Regions from separate parts of the Homo sapiens genome. Here all the other regions are linked to region 1. Evidence: promoter capture Hi-C in human tissues and cell types (Jung and others, 2019). All regions are on one chromosome and are shown on one strand. Each heading gives the region's core, a stretch centred on a gene start or on the middle of the fragment in contact. The rest is flanking DNA. Distances are from core to core; before and after follow the strand shown. Region 1 holds the start of ZC3H3 (zinc finger CCCH-type containing 3). Region 2 overlaps NRBP2 (nuclear receptor binding protein 2). Region 3 has its middle 7.9 kb from the start of ZFP41.

What was found. The method cuts DNA at HindIII sites, captures the fragments that hold promoters and counts their contacts. A contact is called where the count stands out against the background at its distance.
Region 2: a fragment that was not itself captured here is called in contact with the fragment with the promoter of ZC3H3 in region 1 in 1 of the 25 tissues and cell types used here (dorsolateral prefrontal cortex).
Region 3: a contact is called between a fragment that was not itself captured here and the fragment with the promoter of ZC3H3 in region 1, in 1 of the 25 tissues and cell types used here (dorsolateral prefrontal cortex).

The regions. Positions count from the first base shown.
Region 1 is chr8:143,540,064-143,542,763 of GRCh38, forward strand. It overlaps ZC3H3 (zinc finger CCCH-type containing 3), which reads right to left and starts at 1,384. Exons shown (of 12, transcript NM_015117.3): 1 at 1,313-1,384. The coding sequence starts at 1,358. It also overlaps the pseudogene RN7SKP175. The HindIII fragment of the contact is 13,358 bases long and covers 1-2,700 here.
Region 2 is chr8:143,834,340-143,837,039 of GRCh38, forward strand. NRBP2 (nuclear receptor binding protein 2) reads right to left here. Exons shown (of 18, transcript NM_178564.4): 14 at 2,700; 15 at 1,788-1,841; 16 at 1,628-1,691; 17 at 1,481-1,536; 18 at 1-1,391. The coding sequence ends at 1,323. Among named protein-coding and RNA genes, the nearest start is that of MIR6845, 2.1 kb to the right of the region's middle. RefSeq lists an enhancer at 2,482-2,700. The HindIII fragment of the contact is 3,184 bases long and covers 1-2,700 here.
Region 3 is chr8:143,237,694-143,240,393 of GRCh38, forward strand. No RefSeq gene overlaps it. Among named protein-coding and RNA genes, the nearest start is that of ZFP41, 7.9 kb to the right of the region's middle. The HindIII fragment of the contact is 3,747 bases long and covers 1-2,700 here.

The DNA of each region.
Region 1 (2,700 bases), core at 134-2,633:
CGTGTTGACGCCCCAGAGCAGGTGTGATGGGAGCTCAAGAAGTGTCCCCAAGTGGGAGGCAGCCCACCTGGCCTCTTATCCATACACACTTTCCCAATCCTTAAGTCTTCCCTTTGTGAGAGTAAAAGCAAAAAGGATTTTTAATTTTTAAAGCTTTTTTTTGTTTGGTTGGTTTTGGCTTTTTATTTGAGATGTGGTTTTTCTCTGTTGCCCAGGCTGGAGTGCAGTGGCCCAATCACGGCTCACTGCAGCCGGGACCTCCAGGGCACAAGCAAACCTTCCACCTCTGAGTAGCTGGGACTACAGGCGCAAGCCACCACGCCCATCTCACTTTTTAAAATTTTTCTGTAGAGACGGGCTCTCGTCATGTTGCCCAGGATGGTCTCAAACTCCCGGGCTCAAGCCATCCTCCTGCCATAGCCTCCCAAAGTGCTGGGATTACAGGTGTGGGCCACTGCGTCCGAACATGGATTTTCTTTTTAAGTTTAGAAAGACCAATTTGGGTTTTTTAATGTTTAAGTGTGGAAGCTGAAGCCTGTTCAGTCTGCGCCTGGAATGGCAAGGGGAGTGTGACTGTTCGGAGAAAAGGGGCATCAAAACCGGGCGTCGAGGCTGGGAGCGGTGGCTCATGCCTGTAATCCCAGCACTTTGGGAGGCCGAGGCGGGTGAATCACCTGAGGTCGGGAGTTAGAGACCATCCTGGCCAACATGGTGAAACCCCGTCTCTACTCAAAATACAAAAATTAGCCAGGCGTTCTGGCGCCTACCTGTAATCCCACGTACTCCGGAGGCTGAGGCAGGAGAATCACTCGAACCCAGGATGAGGAGATTGCAGTGAGCCGTGATCGCGTCACCGCACCCCAGCCTGGGTGACAGAGCAAGACTCTGTCTCAAAAAAAACCGGGCGTCAAGGAAGGAACCCGCGTGCGCCCTTAGCCTGCTCTGCCGAAATGAGCCATGAACTAGTCCCAGCCCCGCAGTGGGGCGCGGGGAGAGAGTGGGCGCCGGGGGACGCGACAGCCCGCGGTGGTGGGGAGGGCCGCCGCCCCCCGCGGGTTACTAAGCGACGGCCCTGCCTCCACCCTCTGCAGCCCCAGCAGGGCCGGCACCACTCCCTCGACAAAGCTGGAGCCGGGGACTGACCCGGGCCCTGAGCCGGCCCACAAGTCCTGGCGGACCCTACCGTCCCCCACCCCAGCCGCCACCCAGAACACGCGGGCGGTGAGCGACCCCTTCGACAAGGGGGCAGGGGACCCGCCGCGAGGTGAGGGGGAAAGAAGGGGACTCGCGTCCCGGCCCCGGCCGGACCTACCCTGCAGTAGGCGGATCTGCCGCCGTAATATCTCCTTTTCCTCCATCTCCCGAGTCCGCGACGGCCGGCCAGGCCCCCACGACGTCATCGCTACGCGACCTTTTTCCCGCGGGCGGGGCGGAGCGGGCCAGGGCGGAGCTGCCAGGAGCAGGCCCGGATGTCTGCCGACCGCCGAGGACCCGCCGTCGCGCTGACAACGGCAGCGGAGAGGCAGAGCCGCGCACGCGCAGAACGAGGCGGGGACGTCACTAGTGAGCGCCGGGAAGTGGCCTGGTAACGGCTGGGAAGGGACTGCTTGGGCTCTGGGAGGCCGCGCGGGCCCAGCTTGTGCAGTCCGGGATCGCGTCCCCTTGGGAGACTTGGCGAGGGGCGAGACCTGGGGCCCACCCAGCCCATACCGCAGTTCCTTCCCACAGTCCCTGCGTTTCATTTCGCCCCAGTTGAGTGTTGGGGGGGGGGGGGTCTACGCGGGGACCCATGGGAGAAGGGCCAGTTAACAATTACTCTTGACCCAGGAGGGTCTGTGAAACCTCTTACTGTGGCCAGAGGAGAAGACATCGGAGAGCAAGGTTCCCTGGATAGACATGTTGAACCTCTGAAAACATGAAAGTTTTTAGTTCGTCATTGGAAACATGTACAAGTGTAAACCTCTGTGCGCTGTTGGTGGGAATGTAAATGGCGCAGCACCGCAGAAAACTATGGAGATTCCACAAAAGGTTAAAAGTAGAACTACCGGATATGAGGGCGATCTGGCTGCGACACCTGTCATCCCATTGATCGCCAGGGTTGATTCGGCTGATCTGGCTGGCTAGGCGGGTGTCCCCTTCCTTCCTCACTGCTTCATGTGCGTCCCTCCCGAAGCTGCAGCTCAGTCGAAGAGAACGACCATACCCAATAGAAGAGCTGGGCTTCCCTGGTAGAACCTCCAAACAAGCTCTCAAGGTCCATTTGTAGGAGAAGGTAGGGTAGTCAAGATTCCAGACACATCCAAATGAGGCGCTGCATGTGGCAATCTGCCTTTCTAGGAGAAAACAAAAATGGAACTACGGTATGATCCAGCAACCCTACTTCTGGCTATATTCCCAAAAGAATGGAAACCAGAGACTCAAACATATTTGTGCCCCCATGTTCACTGCAGCATTTTTCCCAATAGCCAAAAGACGGAAACAACCCAAGTGTCCACGGGTGGATGGAAGGATAAACAAAATGTGATCCATACAAACAATGAAATATTTTTCAGCCTTAAAATGGAAGGAAATTCGGCCGGGCGCAGTGGCTCACGCCTGTAATCCTAGCACTTTGGGAGGCTGAGGCGGGCGGATCACGAGGTCAGGAGTTTTGAGACAAGCGTGGTCAACATGGTGAAACCCCGTCTCTGCTAAAAATAT
Region 2 (2,700 bases), core at 139-2,638, 290 kb after region 1:
CTTAGTTTACAGTCAGCAAGAAAGTGGGGACCTTGGCCCTGCCACCGAAAGGATGTGGATTCTGCCAGCAGCCTGAAGGAGCAGGAGACAGAGTCTCCCCTAGAACCTCCAGGAAGGAAGGCAGCCTGCCAGCCTTGATTCTAGTCCAGTGAGACCCATAGTCAGACTTCCAGCCTACAGAATTGCAATAAATTTGTGTTAAGTCACTAAGTTTGTGGTAAATTTTACAGCGGCAGTATAAAACTAATACAGTGGTGTGCCTTCCTGGTTGACATTTGAAATGCGTTTAGAAAGGCATGAATGCGCTAATGTATACATACAGTTTAAAATGCTTAAGGCCATTTCACTAAGTTTGGAATTGGAGGAGAGGCAAGCCAAGAATCAAGAGGCCAGGAAGGCAGGGGTAGAATCCATGAGGGCATAGAAATCTCTAAGACTGAGCCAGGAGTGGAGTGGGAGAGAGGCAGGGAGCCAGGAGCTGACATCCTCAGAGGCCCAGGGAGCAGCTGCCCCAGGGAGGAGGTGCGGGAGGTAACATGGAGGGGCTGTGAGTCTGAGGAGCAGGGAGGATGTGGGGTCCCTGACGCCTCCAGGCCAGGGAATGCATGAGAGAAAAAGCCCATTGGAGGGGCTGCAGTGGCCAGAGGAGATCTGCAGAGGGGCTGCAAGTTCTGGTCTCAGGGTGGGTAAAGGGTCAAAGAGGTGGCTCTAGGGCAGAGCTGTGTGGGACCAGGGGCTTTGCTGACAACAGCCTCAACTCCAGACCTCTCTGTGGTCTGTTTCTCCTGCCAGGTCCCTGTTGTGCCCAGTGCCATGCCTGACACCTGCAGGTGTGTCACCGCTGGCTTGCTGTGCAGGCTCCTTGTGTGGGTCTATGGTGCCAGCAGGGGATGGCTGCTCTCCCAGACCCCATGGAGCAGTTCCCTGGGCAGAGGTCTGTCCAGGGCTGACCCTCACCCCCAAGCCCCAGAGCTGGGGTTCCCTACAGGGCAGCCTCCTGCATGCTGAGGAGGCAGTGGCCCCGGCCAGGCAGCCTGGGTAGGAACTCAGGGCGGAGAATGGAGGATATGGGAAGGGGTTCTGGGGGCAACCCTGATCCTAAGGACCTGGGAGGCCTAACGGCTCCCCCACACCCACCCCCCAACCCCTCGGCGCCCAAGGCAGGGTCAGCCCCACTCTCAGGAGACGGGGGGTTCCTTCACTACCGGGGCCTTTGTGCTCCCAGGCGCATGGAGGAGGGCAGCCCCACGGTGCTGGAGTCTCCCCAACATGGCCTGCCCAGGCAGCACCCCGGCATGGTCCCCTGGGGCTGGGGCTCCGGGTCAGGCCTGGGTCCCACGGTACTTGAGGAAGGTGCTCTCCAGGAAGGCGGCCAGCTTCATCCGGTCGTCCTGCGGAAGGAGGGAGGCATGGGGGACGGAGGGGCGCGGCCTGCCCCGTGCGCCCCCTCCGCCAGGCCGCGCCGCACCGCCCAGCGCACCTCGTGGAGGAAGCCATAGTGCACGAGCTCCGAGGCGAGGTCCTGGGCGCTGTCCGCTGAGGCAATGGCGTAAGGCGAGGCATGAGGCCGCTGCCCACCCGCCGCCTGGGGTCACCGCCCGCCGCCCAAGTCCCCTGCCCAGCCTACTTGGGAGCAGGTCGTAGGTCAGCTGCCGGTGCAGCCGGTCTTCCAGCACCAGAAGCAGAGTGAGCTGGGGAGGCGGCGGGGCGTGGTCGGCTGGGGGTTCAGGGCTCCGCCACGCTCCCGCCTTCCCCACGGCAGCGCCGCCCTCCCAGGCCCCGCTCACATGCCAGCGCGCCTTGTCCTCGCTTCTCTCCAGGTTGCACTGCATCTGGATGACCTGCAGCGGGGGAAGGCTGGGACTCACAAACCCAGCAGCAAGACCACATGCCGCGGCCCCAAAGGGGCCGGGAAGGGACAGCAAAGACTGGAAAGGGGGGAATCTCTAAGAGGAGCCCATCTCACTGCTAGTGGCTTGGCAAGCTAAGGAAAGCTTCGAGAAGAGTCGACATTAGGGGCTGGGTACTGAAGGCTGAATAGGAGCTTTCACCGCGGAGAGAACAACTTGAACAAAGAGGGAACTGTGGGCGTGGGGAAAGGGAGGTTGGGCGGGACAGGACCGCGCCGAAGTGCACGGTGCCTGCGGGATCAGGCCTCCCAGAGCCTGGGTGTCAGCTGAGGACTCCCATGATCTCTGCTGGCAGCCAGGAGCAGGCAGTTTGCCTGTTAGGACATGAATTCTGGCTGCACTGCACCGAGAGAGGCCCCTGGCCAGGAGGGGGTGCTGCAGGAAAAGTCTGGGGAGACACCAGGACATAGATGTCCGGGAATCAGCACCAGGTGGGGGATGGGAGGGGTGGGGGGGGTGGGAGGGGTGCGGGGGTGGGGGAAGATTGCTGGCAGGGTGGAAGAGCCCGGGTGAGTTCTGGAGGAAGGATGCTTGGAGTAGGTTCAGGGCAGGCAGCAGGATGCAGGGGAAGGATCTGAGGGGACAGGGAGCCTCCCGGAAAAGGAGAGTGCCCAGCCTGTCCTATAACCCCCATGACCCCCACAAGGGGGTCAGCCTGGATCTGGTCTCTGGCAGCCAGGAGGAGAGCTGGGCTGTGGGGATGCAGGCCCTAAGAGAAGGAGGGGCACCTCTTATCTGGCTGTTAGAAGGTCTGAGGGATGGCACTGAGCAGCAGGAGAGGGGACTCACC
Region 3 (2,700 bases), core at 139-2,638, 300 kb before region 1:
AGAGAAACCCCGTGAAATCCCAAGGGGAGAACATTCACCCAGTGAGTGCAATGAACTCACAGAAACGTTCAGGTCTAGGTAACCTGTTACCAACACCAGAGAATCCACACAGATAATTTGCACAGGAAGAAGCCCTGGCCAGGTGTACTGCTCACGCCTGTAATCCCATGCTTTGGGAGGCCGAGACAGGCAGACGGCTTGAGCCCAGGGTTTCGAGATCAGCCTGGGCAACATAGCAAGGCCTCGTCTCTACAAAAAAAAAAAAAATGAAAAAATTAGCCAGGCATGCCGTTGCACGCCCATGGTCCCAGCGACTCAGGAGGCTGGGGCAGGAGGATCGCTTGACCCAGGGAGGTTGAAGCTGCAGTGAGCAGAGATGGAGCCACTGCACTCCACCCTACGTGACAGAGCGAGACCCTGTCTCAAAAAAAGAAAGAAAAAAGAAACCTTGCAATGATCCTGAGAAAGGACTTTTAAATGTAGCGTGGAAGAGCTGGACAAACTGCAGCCTTTTGGTATGTCCATGTAAGTTCTAGAATTAGCTCAGAGAGTGGGTTTATGCTGGAAGGGAGCTTCCTCTACTGCCCAGCCTGTGCCACCCTGGATAAGTTACCTCTGAGTGAGTCCGTTAGTGGGTGAACATGGGAAAGATTACGTAATTGGAGAATAAATGGATTTACCACCAATGTCTTGTCATAGATTATAAGCCCGAGGGGCGGGTGTTAATTTTTCCAATTAAATTGGTGTGACATATAATTAAGGAATGTGCTCACAGGTAAGGAGCTGGGGTTTCATGGAAGAATGATTCTGCTTAGTGGCCTGACATTTTTGTGTCTCTTGCTTGCTCTGCATGCAAAAGCCTCACCGGTTCACTTGTTCACGCGGTCTCCTCGCCTGTGCTCCAAAACAGAGATTCTGGACCCCGGCCACACACAAGAATCATCTGGGGGTGATTTTTCAAAACGCTGATGCTAGATGCCAGCCCCTCTGCCCCTACCCCAGCTACAGTGGGATCTCTTAGAGGTGGGGGACTGGTCAGCATTTCTCCAAGCTCTTAGGAGTTTCAAATGAACAGCCCGAGCTGTGCCCCACTGCACCAGGGAGCTTGTGCCATCTGCTGCCACTCAGGCCCTGCCTGATCATCAGAGTCACTGGGAAGCTTCTAAAATTACAGGTTATGAGGCTTAACCCCAATGGCATTCTGTTTGACCAGCTCTTGGATGATGTCTGGAAATCCCTTTTTTTTTTTTTTTTTTTCTTAAAAAGATTCCAAACTGATTCTGATTATGAGCAGGTTTAGGAACCAATGCCATAAAGGGCGTGAAAACCAAGGTAGCAGCTGTCCCGCCAGGCAGGGAAGACCTGGGCACTCCCTAGGCCCTGCCATGCCCCACACCATCCTGGGCATCCTCCATCTTCACACCATTTGGTCTTCATTGAAGATCCCATGAGATCCTGTTCCTACCCCGTCATGCAGGAGGGACCGCTGAGGGCATCTGAACATTGTGCAGGAGGGAACGCTGAGGGCATCTGAACATTGTGCAGGAGGGAACACTGAGGGCATCTGAACATCGTGCGGGTGGGAACGCTGAGGGCATCTGAAGTTGAGGAGCTTGCCCACATCAGCAGTGGGGTGCAGGGGTTGGAATCCAGACCCAGACCCGCCTGCCTTGGCTCCATCCCACCTGCTGTCCGAGACTCTGGGCGCCTGCCTGTGGATCCAGGCTCCAGCACACCGCTCAGCAGGCCCCACAGTCCTGGGAGGTCCAAGCCCTGGAACAAAGCAAAGCGCAGGCCTGCGTCTACACACCTGTCTCTGTGGGCTCTGTTCCTCTGATGCAACCCTGACGGATCCATTAGTATGACTGGAATGTCCTTGGGATCAAAACTCACTTTTTTTTCTTCTTTAGACAGAGTCTTGCTCTATCGCCCAGGCTGGAGTACAGTGGCACATTCTCAGCTCACTGCAACCTCGGCCTCCTGGGTTCAAGCGATTCTCCTGCCTCAGCCTCCCAAGTAGCTGGGATTAGAGGTGCCCGCCACCATGTCCGGCTAATTTTTTTTGTATTTTTAGTAGAGACGGGGTTTCGCCGTGTTGGTCAGGCTGGTCTCAAACTCCTGACCTCATCATCCACCTGCCTTGGCCTCCCAAAGTGCTGGGATTACAGGCGTGAGCCACCGCGCCCGACCGGAATCAAAACTTTCTAACTTCTAAAAGTTAGATTCTGGCTTCTAAAAGTGTGGCGCTGTTTTAGGATGGTTTTAGGATGGCTCAGTCCATCCAGTGGGAAGATTCTTTAAGCCCCTTGAACGTTTGGGCTGGAGAGAGAGTGAAATGAGGGCAGAGGTGCTGATTGGCCCCACACCAGTCACTGACAATGGCAGCTCCCGAGACGGCCATGGGTGCAGCCAGTGGGCACATTGCCCCCATTTTAAAATAACTTATAAATTACAAGCCAAGTTTAGCAAGTGGGTACTGCACTAAGGGCTTTGTGAGGACTTTTCACGTAGCCTTCACAATGACCCCACAGGGCAGGTGCTATCATCTTGCCCCATTTGACAGGAAATCTACTGACCATCCCAAGGCACACAGCCAGCAGTGGTGCTGATGTCCAGGCCCAGTGCTTTGACACTGTCGAGTTTCTTAAACCCTCTGAGCCTTCATTGTTTTATCTGCAAAGTGGAGACACCACCAGCAGT